Linked DNA regions of Homo sapiens: region 1 is linked to region 2. The links are contacts of gene promoters, found by promoter capture Hi-C in blood cells and fetal thymus (Javierre and others, 2016). All regions are on one chromosome and are shown on one strand. Each heading gives the region's core, a stretch centred on a gene start or on the middle of the fragment in contact. The rest is flanking DNA. Distances are from core to core; before and after follow the strand shown.

Region 1 (6,080 bases), core at 657-3,156, 110 kb after region 2:
CCTCCTGCTTCAGCCTCCCAAGTGCTGGGATTACAGGTGTGAATCACTGTGTCTGGCTGTATTTGTCATTTATTTATTTATTTTTGAGACCAGGTCTTGCTCTGTCACCCAGGCTGGAGTGCAGTGATGCAATCATGGCTCACTGCAGCCTTGACTTCCCGGGTTCCAGCAGTCCTCCCACCTTAGCCTCCTTAGTAGCTGGGATCACAGGTGTGTGCCACATGCCCAGCTAATTTTTGTATTTTTGGTAGAGACAGGGTTTCCTCATGTTGCCCAGGCTGGTCTTGAACTCCTGAGTTCAAGCAATCCACCTGCCTCGGCTTCCCAAAGTGGTGGTATTACAGGTGTGAGCCAGTGCACCTGGCCCATATTTATCTTAAAAAAAAAATAGATGTTTATCATTTTTTATATAGACTCATTGAAAAAATGACTTTGTGTTCTTCCAGTACATACCATCATGTCTGAGAGGGCAGAGATCTAGACAAGTGTGGGAAAGATGACTTTGGATCAAAATTTTCTTGTGAATATAATGTGCTTATGCGTAATTTAAAGCTGACTGTATTAAAGATACATTTTTTGTCAACCAGATGATTGTTAAATACCTGTGAAGTATGTGTGGCCCGGTCCTATTTCCTCACCTGTTTACAGTGAATCAGACGTCCCAATAGATGTGGAGACGGTCACATCAACGCCTATGCCACTCTATGACAATCAGAAGGCACGCAGCGTGATGAATGAGTGTGAACGGCATGTCATCTTTGCCAGGACTGATGCAGATGCCCCTCCTCCACCAGAGGACTGGGAGGAGCATGTCAACAGGTAGGCTGCTCATCAGGAGGATGATCACTGCCCTGTAATTATTTTGTATCATCTTCATTGAAATAACACTTATTAGGACCTTATTTCATTTGCAGCAACACAAGTCAGAGTGTTCTCCAAAGTCTCACATTATAACTCTCAGTTCACCATGCTGTGTGTGAGCTCCTTGAGAGTAGGGCTTACATCTCAGCCATCTTTGCATACTTCACACTAGGACGTTGTCTGGCACACAGTAGGCATATAATGTTTGTTGAATAAATAAGTGAATTAAATTTGATACATATGACTAGCTCTGTAGTAGCTTCTGTTGTATAAGTTATGATATAGGGGTTACCCAAACTGCAAAAAAATGAAATGTACATTTGTAAGATATTGTGTTTAAATGGTTTATAACTAGGATGATGGAAGTTGTGAAGTCACATGAAAAGCTAACAGATGTTTGAGTGGCTTTTAAAAATAGATTTGCAGGCTATGGAGGGCACACTGAAGCCTATTTTCACGAGTATACTGGCTAGTTTTGTTCCCAAGCTTTCTACTGCCCCCAGGGGACTCAGCACTCCTCTCCTGGTTATTTGTCCCTGTTCATTTGGTAAACATTTACCTAATTACATAACAGCTTTTTGGGGATATTATTTACATACCATACAATTCAGCTATTTAATATGTACAGTCATTGGTTTTTAGTATAGTCAGAGTTGTATATTCATCACCACTATCAATTTGATAAACATTTTCATCATCCTAAAAAGAAACCTCTTACCCATAAACAGTTACTTCCCGTTTCCTCCCAGCTTCTCTGGTCCCTAGGAAGCACTAATTGACTTTTGTCTTTATAGATTTGCCTATTCTGGACATTTCATATAAATGGAATCATGCAATATGTGGTCTTTTCCTACTGGCTTCTTTCACCCAGCATGATGTTTTCAAGGTTTATCCATGTGGTTGCGTGTATCAGCACTTCATGCTTTTTATTGCCAAATGACATTACATTGTATGGATAGCCCACATTTTATTTATTCATTAATCAGTTGATAGATATTTAGATTGTTTTCATTTTTTGGCAATTGTGAATAATGCTATTATGAACATTTGCATACAAGTTTTTGTGTGGATCTAAGTTTTTAATTCTCTTAGTTATATACCTGGGAGTGGACTTGTTGGGTCATATGATAACTCTGTATTTAACCTTTGAGGAATTGCCAGACTGTTTTCCAAAGTGGCTGTACCATTTTACATTCCTACCAGCAGTGTATGAGAGTTCTAGTTTCTCCATATCCTTGCCAACACTTACTGATTTTCTTCTTTTTTAAAAAAATTATAACCATTCTACTGCGTGTAAAGTGGCATCTCATTGTGGTTTCAACTTATATTTTGTTGATGGCTTTTTGTCTGTGTATCCATATATCTACTATATATATAAGGAAATGTTACTTCTTATATCAGGAGTTGGTAGGTGGTAACTTTCCATAATTTTGGAGAACCCTTATTTTATAATAGAGAGAAAGAGGGGTAGAAAGTTTGAGGTGATTGACATGACTTCTGAAGCTGGTTGGAAGTTGGGAATGAGATTGAACAGGTGTGCTTGTGTGATCAAAACAGCAGCTGTTGAGGGAGGAGCAGTTCTGCACCTTGGTTGAAAAAGCTTGTGAAGAAGTTGGTTGGGGTCTTGCATTGGAATTAATTTAGTGCCTTAAGAAGCTCTTTTCTCACGCCTGTAATCCCAGTACTTTGGGAGGTTGAGGCGGGTGGATCACCTGAGGTCGGGAGTTCAAGACCAGCCTGACCAACATGGAGAAACTCTGTCTCTGCTAAAAATACAAAATTAGCTGGGTGTGGTGGCGCATGCCTGTAATCCCAGCTACTCGGGAGGCTGAGGCAGGAGAATCACTTGAACCTGGGAGGCGGAGGTTGTGGTGAGCCGAGATCGTGCCATTGCACTCCAGTCTGGGCACCAAGAGTGAAACACCATCTCAAAAAAAGAAAAAAAAGCTCTTTTGAGCTTCAGATAAAGAAGAAAACTGCTACGAATGAAGATCAACTACTGGAATATTGCTAGAGTCAGTATATTCAGCAAAAGGATTTATCACTATTTTTACAGTTAATAATAAAAAATAACGACGATGGTAATAACAAAAAGGAGCTACCGTTTGTTGAGTGCTTTCTAGGTGCCAGACATTGTATCAATGTCTCTTCAAATGCATTGTCTCTTAATCCTCCCAATGACTCTTGGAGGTATATCCCCCCTTCATCTCTGCTCAACAGGATGAAGAAACTGAGCTCAGGGTGTTTAAGAAACCTTAATTAGGAAGTGATGGAGAAGGATTTTGTTCAAACCAAGCAGCCTGACTCCAGAACCCAGTGTTCTCAACTACCATACCCTCTGCCTTAATTAAGGGCAGTAAGAAGAGATTAAGACCAGTTAGTGGTGGCTGAACAAGGTGGCCTGGTATGGTTATGTATCCCTTTGTGGTATTTTCTACTACCTTGTCCTTTGCAATTTCAGAAAGTACATAGGAGAACTGTGTGATTTTTTTTTTTTTTGTCAGTTTATCCATGGTTATGATTAAGAGGTTTTTGTGGACAATTCATACTTATCAAAGTCATTAGAGACTTAATAATACTATAAATACCAGTTTGTTTCTTTTTTCTTTTTTTTGAGACAGGGTCTCACTCTGTCACCCAGACTGCAGTGCAGTGGCACGATCTCAGCTCACTACAAGCCTTGACCTCCAGGACTCAGGTGATTCTCCCGGGTGGGAACCTTAACCTCCCAAGTAGCTGGGACTACAGGAGTACGTCACCATTTCTTAATTTTTGTAGTTTTTGTAGAGATTGGGTTTCACCATGTTGCCTAGGCTGGTCTCAAACTCCTGGCTCAAGTGGTCTGCCCACCTTTGCCTCCCAAAGTGCTAGGATTATAGGTGTGAGCCACTGCACTTGGCTGAGTTTCTTAATTTATAAGGAGAGATATAACTGCAAAGCATAAGAGACACTGGGGTGGCCTGGCCAGAGTGTCTGTTCTCAGCAGGAAAGTCTGGAAAACCATTTTATTTCAGAAGTGAATAGATGAGTGGAGAGTCTACACAGGAGGCACAGCAGAATAGCTGGATGTACACATCTTTCCTCTAGGCAAGATGAGTCCACGGAATAGGCCAGTGTGCACCTTCTCCTGCCTGTCCTTTAGAGAAACACTGACAGATTCTTGTCTTTGGCTTATCTTTCTCCAGTCTCCTTGTGGACCACCACCCTTCTGTTATGACATTGCCACATTGCCACAGATTGATGTAATCCATTAAAGCTCAATTTATCAGATTATTTGTTTTCTTAGTGTCTGATGAGATTTTGGAGGCCTTCTCTCATTGGCAGCAGGCTTACACACCATCTCTTTTGGTAGGTAACTTTTGTACATAGCCGATTTTATTATTTATGATAACTTATTAGTTTCAGTTTCAGATACCACCATTTTATGACCCTGTCCCTGAATCTGTAGCCTGTTTGGAGCTTGCAGTTCCTTCTGCTCTGATTATAATCATCGTGTTGCCATTCTTTCCCTGACTTGATTGTTAAATTGCTGCTTCCTTTCTTCTTATATAAAGTCATGTAAAATTAGTTTGCCACATCAAGAGCTCCATGAACGGTGTAGGTCGGCTCCCTAGAACTCTGGAGTTCTTTCCCGGAGAGTTTACTGATTGCTCTTTGTCTGTGGAGGCAGAAACTTAATTTCCTTGTTAAGAGCTTTTTTCCTCTCTCTTGAATGATTTCAGTAGAAACTGTCTTCAGATAGCTTTGTGTATATAGGCTAGGCGCAGTAGCTCTCGCCTGTAATCCCAGCACTTTGGGAGGCTGAGGCGGGAAGATAATTTGAGGTGAGGAGTTTGAGACCAGCCTGACCAACATAGTGAAACCCCGTCTCTACTAAAAATAGTAAAAATTAGCTGGTGTGGTGGCAAACGCCTGTAATCTCAGCTACTCGGGAGGCTGAGGCAGGAGAATCTCTTGAACCTGGAAGGCAGAGGTTGCAGTGAGCCGAGATCGTGCCACTGCACTCCAGCCCGGGCAACAGAGCAAGACTCCGTCTCAAAAAAAAAAAAGAAGCATGTTCCTCCCTTCCCTGCCCCTGACTCTGGCTTTCTTTATTAATGGCTGATATTTTGTGAAATGGTTTAAATATTACTACCTTATTTAATTGTCTGCATTAGTGGTTGTCTAACTATGACAGTGGGCTGATTTAAATTTGGCCCATTGCTTGTTTTTGTGTGGAATGATTTTTACATTTTTAAATAGTTGCAAAAAAATTAATACTGTTTCATGACACATGAAATTAAAATTTCGGTGTGCATAAGCTTTTATTGAGATACAGTCATATTCATTAGGTATTATCCATGGCTGCTTTTGCAGTAAAGCCACAAAATTGAATAGTGGCAGAAGCCATATGGCCTGGAAACCCTAAAACATTTTCTGTCCGGCCTCTTATAGAAAAAGTGAGCTTCCTGGGTCATGTTCTTGTGTCTGCGTGCCATGGCATGTGACTTAGAGGACCTTTGAAAATGATTTCTATTTGCTGGCATAGTGATGTAGTCCTGAAGATGTTGGGCCAGCTTTTTTTTCCCTCCAGATGTTTGTCAAATGTGAAGTTTCATTAGTTGCATAGCTTTTGAAAGACATTTAATAAAATTTTCCTGACACATGATACTTCTCAGAATTGCTCAAATGGATTTTAGGACATTTCCAACATTTTAGTGAAAGAATGTAGTAGTATCCAAAAGCAGGCTTTCTTATCTTAGAAATCAGAACTTCTGAATTCCAGCCAAAAACACCCCATTTTCCTTTTCTGAGCCTTCTTTAGTTTTATATTCAATATTGTATGTATCTGTATAAATCTTAGGTTGGATGTTTGAAATTTTAAGTCCAAGGTCTTTGAGTTATCGTCCCTCCTTCCCCTCCCCCACCCTCTTTATTTCCCCTTCCTTCATTCCTTCCCTTCTTCTAGTGTTTAGACAAAGAATTTTATAATCTGAAAAAGGAAAGTATGACTGTTGAGTTTATCTGATGTACTTTGTGTCTCCTTGTTTGACTTCTGGTTAAAAAAAAATCCTTTAGATATTTTAATGTTGAATTAATTAGTCTTCTTTGAAACAGTATCCAAAATAATGATTACCTTTGAAAATACCAGATATTTTCAGGACCAATGTTATATTTTGGCTGCTTTGAATAGAATGAGCCAGAGGTCAGCATATCATTCAGGTTCAGTCAGAGCAGGG
Region 2 (6,104 bases), core at 3,247-5,746:
ACCTGGATTACCCCAGGTCTCCTTCCTTTTGTTTTGCTTTGAGATGGAGTTTCACTCTTGTTGCTCAGGCTGGAGTGCAATGGCGTGATCTCGGCTCACTGCAACCTCCGCCTCCTGGGTTCAAGCAATTCTCCTGCCTCAGCCTTCCAAGTAGCTGGGATTACAGGCACCATGCCTGGCTAATTTTTGTATTTTTAGTAGAGACAGGGTTTCACCATGTTGGCCAGGCTGGTCTCGAACTCCTGACCTCAAATGATTCCGCCCTCCACCCCCACCTCGGCCTCCCAAAGTGCTGGGATTGCAGGTGTGAGCCACCGAGCCCCGCCTGTCCTTCCTTTCCTTTTTTTTTTCTTTTGAGATGGAGTCTCACTCTGTTGCTCAGGCTCGAGTGCAGTGGCATGATCTTGGCTCACTGCAACCTCTTCCTCCTGGGTTCAAGCGATTCTCCTGCCTCAACCTCCCGAGTGGCTGGGACTACAGGTGTGCACTACCACGCTTGGCTAATTTTTGTATTTCTAGTTGAGATGGGGTTTCACTATATTGGCCAGGCTGGTCTCGAACTCCTGACCTCATGATCCACCCGCCTCAGCCTCCCAAAGTACTGGGATTACAGGTATGAGCCACCGGGCCTGGCTCTTCCTTTTCTTTGATACATTCCTCATTAATAAGCATTCTTCCTATTGCAACAGTCTGAACAAAATGATTTGATTTATAGTCCAGTGCATCTCACCTTTCACACCCTTCTCCTTTATTCCCCTTTTCCTCATCACACAGAATTTTACAATGAGATTTCTGCTTGTGTCAATCTATCAGAAATTCAGCTGACAGGGTGCATGACACTGCGAATGAATTTAATGCCTTTGAACTGAACACACATGGTCCTGACTTAATGATGGTTTGACTTAGGATTTTTAGACTTTAGGATGGGTTTAGTTTTTCTGTAGGTAACCCCATTGTAAGTTGAGGACCATCTGTACTTAAAAATTATACGCTGTATTTTATGTATTTTTTTTCTTTTTTTTTTTTGAGACAGAGTTTCACTCTTGTTGCCTAGGCTGGAGTGCAGTGGCGCGATCTTGGCTCACCGCAACCTCCACTTCCCAGGTTCAAGCGATTCTCCTGCCTCAGCCTCCCAACTAGCTGGGATTACAGGCATGCGCCACCACACCCGGCTAATTTTGTATTTTTAGTAGAGACGGGGTTTCTTCATGTTGGTCAGGCTGGTCTCGAACTCCCGACCTCAGATGAGCCACCCACCTCGGCCTCCCAAAGTGCTGGGATTACAGGTGTGAGCCACCGCGCCCGGCCTTTATGTGCATTTTACTACAATTAAAAATTCATCTTGCAGAGAAATGCAATGGAAATAATTTATTCAAAACAATTAGAACCCCTACTATGTGCTGGGTGATAGGTTGGGGTTGGGGAAATGGGTGGGGCCTGAGTTAGGAAATGAGTAAGACCTGCTTCCTGTGGTCCTGGAGCTCCCAGCCTTGCTGCGGAGACAAACCCATAATCTGTTAATTGAGCTCCATAATTCCAGGTGACACACATTACAGTACACATGCGTAGCGCCTGATTTCAGTCAGGATGCAAAGGGCTTTGAATGCTACACTAAGGACTTTGGATTTTGGTAATTGGGAGTTATGAATGGTTTTAAAGCCAGTGTATGACACGAACAGATTCATTGCAATTCCTAAAGTCTTAGCACCAGACATTTGACATTGTAGGGTGTCAAAGACTGATGGCAGTGACAGGCTGGGCACCATGGCTCACACCTGTAATCTCAGCACTTTGAGAGATGAGGTGGGAGGATCGCTTAAGGCCAGAAGTTCAAAACCAGCCTGGGCAACATAGAGACCCCCATCTTTAGAAAAAATTTTAAAAATTAGCTGAGGCTCACCCAGCAGTTTGAGACTGTAGTGAGCTATGATCACAGTACTGCACCCCAGCCTGATGGATTGAGACCCCATTTCTTCTTTTTTTTGTTTTTTTGAGACGGATCTGCTGCTCAGGCTGGAGTATGGTGGTGGGATCTTCTTGACTCACTGCAACCTCTACCTCCTGGGTTCAAGTGATTCTCCTGCCTCAGCCTTCCAAGTATCTGGGATTACAGGCACCTGCCACCACGCCCATTTAATTTTTGTATATATATGTATATATATATTTTTCGAGACGAAGTCTCACTGTGTTGCCCAGGCTGGAGTGCTGTGGTGCGGTCTCGGCTCACTGCAACCTCCGCCTTCTGGGTTCAAGTGATTCTCCTGCCTCAGCCTCCTGAGTAGCTGGGACTACAGGCGTGTGCCACCACGGCTGGCTAATTTTTTGTATTTTTAGTAGAGATGGGGTTTCACCATGTTGGCCAGGATGGTCTTGAACTCCTGACCTCAGGTGATCCGCCTGCCTCCCAAAGTGCTGGGATTACAGGCCTGAGCCACCGTGCCCAGCCAAGACCCCATCTCTTTAAAAAAAATAGCTGTGACAGCTTTAATTTTAAAAAGTTGATCCCCTGTAAAGTAGGCTCATAATTATGTTTATCTTATTAAATATATTCATGCTCAGGAAAGCAAGAGAGTGTTAACTTTGGTTAAGTCTATTGGGAAGACATAAACACAGATCTGTCAATTGCTCTATATGAGATGTGCATGGAACACTTTGAGAGCTCAGACAGGAGAATCTACCCTGCCTGAGAGGTTTGAGAAGGACCTCCAGAAGGAAGTGGACTGCAGAAAAAAAAAAGAGGGAAGGGAAGCTGGAGCATAAAGATGGAGGAAAAGAGTCATGGGCAATAAGGCCAGGGCCAGATGGCAGGGGGCTTTGTGTGCCAAATTGAGGGGCTTGAATCTCCTCCCCACAGGTGATGGTGAGCCATCAAAGGCCCGGTTAATAAGAATGATGATGATGAAATAGCGCTTATGGCTTGGTGCGGTGGCTTACACCTCTAATCCCAGCACTTTGGGAGGCTGAGGAGAGAGGATCACTGAAGTCTAGAAGTATGAGACAAATCTGGGCAACTTAGTGAGACCTCCCCCACAACCCCATAGCTACAAAAAATAAAAATTAGCAAGGTGAGGTGGCACACACCTGTAGTCCCAGCTACTTGAGAGGCTGAAGTGGGAAGATCCCTTGAGTCCAGGAGGTTGAGGCTGTGGTCATGCCACTGCACTCCAGCCTGGGTGACAGAGAGAGACCCTGTCTCAAAAACAAAAACAAAAACAAAAACAAAAAAAAAAAGAAAAGAAAAAAGAAAGAAATAGTGCTTACTACACGCAAGGCACTGTTCTAAGAGGTTTACCAATATTGACTCATTTAACCCTGACACTTACCATGGTTAGATAGTTTGGATCACTTTAGTGGCTACGTGGAGACCAGTCTGGACACATGTTGTGGTGCCGGATAAAGACGAAGGGATGTGCCTGTAGTCCCAGTAACTCAGGAGGCTAAGGTGGCAGGATCACTTCAGCCAGGGAGGGAGAGGCTGGAGCTGAGATTGTGCCACTGCACTCCAGCCTGGGCAACAGAGCAAGACCTTGTCTCTCTTTTTTTTTTTTTTTTTGAGATGGAGTTTTGCTCTATGTGGCCCAGGCTGGAGTGCAATGGCTTGGTCTCGGCTCACTGCAACCTCTGCCTCCCAGGTTCAAGCGATTCTCCTGCCTCAGCCTCCCAGTAGCTGGGATTACAGGCACGTGCCACCACGCCTGGCTAATTTTTTTTTTTATTTTTAATAGAGACGGGGTTTCTCCACCTTGGTCAGGCTGGTCTCGAACTCCCAACCTCAGGTGATCCGCCTGCCTCGGCCTCCCAAAGTGCTGGGATTACAGGCGTGAGCCACCGCGCCTGGCCAAGACCTCGTCTCAAACCAAAAAGAAAAAAAAGAGGAAGGGAGGAAAGGAGGTGATGGCTTTTAGAATTAATTAATTTGTGTGCTTTCAGTTCTTTTATATCTGTAGGTTGCTTGATGGCCCAGACTATCACGGCAAAGGAGTCATTTGCATTTGAAGAGAATGTGTCTTCCGCAGTTGTTAGGTGGAGTTTCTATAAATATCATCAGGTCAAGTTAGTTGGTAGTGCTGTTCAAGTCTTTTATAAATTGATAGTTTTCCAGCTATTTTACGGATTTGTCTATTTCTCCTTTCACTGCTATATCTTCCAAATTGATTCAGAGAGCTGCAGTCAGGAGCGTACTATTGCAGAGAGGATAGAATGTTTGGGACCAGAAGAAACGTTTTATCTCTTTAAATTTACTCTCGTACGCAGAAAACAAAATACAAATAAACTACGTATCCCAGCAAGCCTAGTGGAACTCAGGGCAAATGCAAATAAGGGGGGGGGCTGGGCATTCGGCTACGCCCCTTTTCTGGGTTGGCAAGGCAACTGATACAGAAGCCAGCCAATCGGTGATATAGTCACCTGCAGGGGCGGGGGCTTGACGAAAGCCAATAGGACGCAGGGCAGATGGCTCTTCGGGCCAATGGGTTGGGCGACGGGGCGGGCTTTTGATGAAGGGTCGTTGGTGGGAAAGATGGCGGCGACTCTGGGACCCCTTGGGTCGTGGCAGCAGTGGCGGCGATGTTTGTCGGCTCGGGATGGGTCCAGGATGTTACTCCTTCTTCTTTTGTTGGGGTCTGGGCAGGGGCCACAGCAAGTCGGGGCGGGTCAAACGTTCGAGTACTTGAAACGGGAGCACTCGCTGTCGAAGCCCTACCAGGGTGAGGCGCCCAGGGTGAGGTGGTCGTGCAGTGGGGCGGGCTTCGGGACTTGATTTCAGGGGTAGAGGCGGGGGCGGCGAAGGGCTTCGTGGCCCGGAGGAAACTGCTGGCGGTGGTGGGGCCCACGGAGACTCCCTCCGCGTTTGGGAGCCACAGGTCTGAAAGGCAGGAGTTAGGTGTGCCTGCCAAGCTCTGGAAGTTTCCAGTAGGTAAAGGCAGGGCTGTCGGGTGCCACTAGTACTAGGCCTGGAGTTAGACAGGAGGAGTTTGGGAAGGGGAGAGAATTGAGAATGGTGAGGAGTGATTGAGGGCTACTAGCAATGAGCCAGTCTCCAGATGGACCTGTGGATGTGCTAGAAATAAAGCAGGAGGAAGAACTGGGGTAGAACTTGAACGAAATGAGAAGATGATAAATTTATGTTGCTGGGTAGAACCACCTTCTCTTCTCCAGCCTAGGGGCCCTGTTGGTGAAAGAGGTTAGGGTTCACAGAACTCTAAGCACAGCTTATCAGCCAGAAAATTAATGCAGTTAGCCACAAAACGATGACAAACCAGTGCAGATGGCTTAACTAACACAAGTCTTTCCCCACTAAGGCGTAGGTAGTGGGACAGAAAACAATTCAAAGTGCAAGAGTATACTCTACTACTAAGGGTAATCATTTATTCACTTACATGCCTGGAGTGCCTCTGTGCTGTCTCTTTGCTAATGCTTATGGGTTTGCAGACACAAAGTTTTCATTCTTAAAGAAGTTTATAGGTGAGGGTACAGGGAGTAGCTTCACACTTTAAGGATTGTTTAAAGAAAGAATGTGACGGCTGGGGCGGTGGCTCACGCCTGTAATCTCCGCACTTTGGGAGGCCGAGGTGGGCGGATCACGAGGTCAGGAGATTGAGACCATCCTAGCTAACACGGTGAAACCCCATCTCTGCTGAAAATACAAAAAAATTAGCCAGGTGTGGTGGCGGGCGCCTGTAGTCCCAGCTACTCAGGAGGCTGAGGCAGGAGAATGGCGTGAACCCGGGAGGCAGAGCTTACAGTGAGCCGAGGTCATGCCACTGCACTTCAGCCTGGGCAACAGAGCGAGACTCCATCTCAAAGAAAAAAAAAAAAGGAAGAATGTGACTAAGCCCCGGAGGCCTGAGGGTCAAACTCTTTTTATTTATATTTATATATTTTTAGAGACAAGGTCTTGTTCCGTTGCCTAGGCTGGAGTGCAGTGGCACAATCATGGCTCATGCAGTTTCAATCTCCTGGGCTCAAGCGATGCTCCCAACTCAGCCTCCTGAGTAGCTAGGACTATGGACAAGGACTACCACACCTGGCTAATTTTTTTTTTGGTAAAGACAGGGTCTTTCTATGTTGCCCAGGCTGGTCTCAAATTGCTGACCTCAAGATGC

Evidence for each region. Contacts are between HindIII fragments. The CHiCAGO score rates a contact against its expected background, and 5 or more counts as called.
Region 1: a contact is called between a fragment that was not itself captured here and the fragment with the promoter of LMAN2L in region 2, in 17 of 17 cell types (M0 macrophages, M1 macrophages, monocytes and 14 more). The highest score is 15.7, in M0 macrophages.

Annotation. Positions count from the first base shown.
Region 1 is chr2:96,626,051-96,632,130 of GRCh38, reverse strand. It overlaps KANSL3 (KAT8 regulatory NSL complex subunit 3), which reads left to right. Exons shown (of 21, transcript NM_001115016.3): 3 at 649-819. Among named protein-coding and RNA genes, the nearest start is that of KANSL3, 9.2 kb to the left of the region's middle. The HindIII fragment of the contact is 1,114 bases long and covers 1,350-2,463 here.
Region 2 is chr2:96,738,456-96,744,559 of GRCh38, reverse strand. It overlaps LMAN2L (lectin, mannose binding 2 like), which reads left to right and starts at 4,496. Exons shown (of 8, transcript NM_030805.4): 1 at 4,496-4,706. The coding sequence starts at 4,520. RefSeq lists enhancers at 4,243-5,180, 5,181-6,104. The HindIII fragment of the contact is 9,784 bases long and covers 1-6,104 here.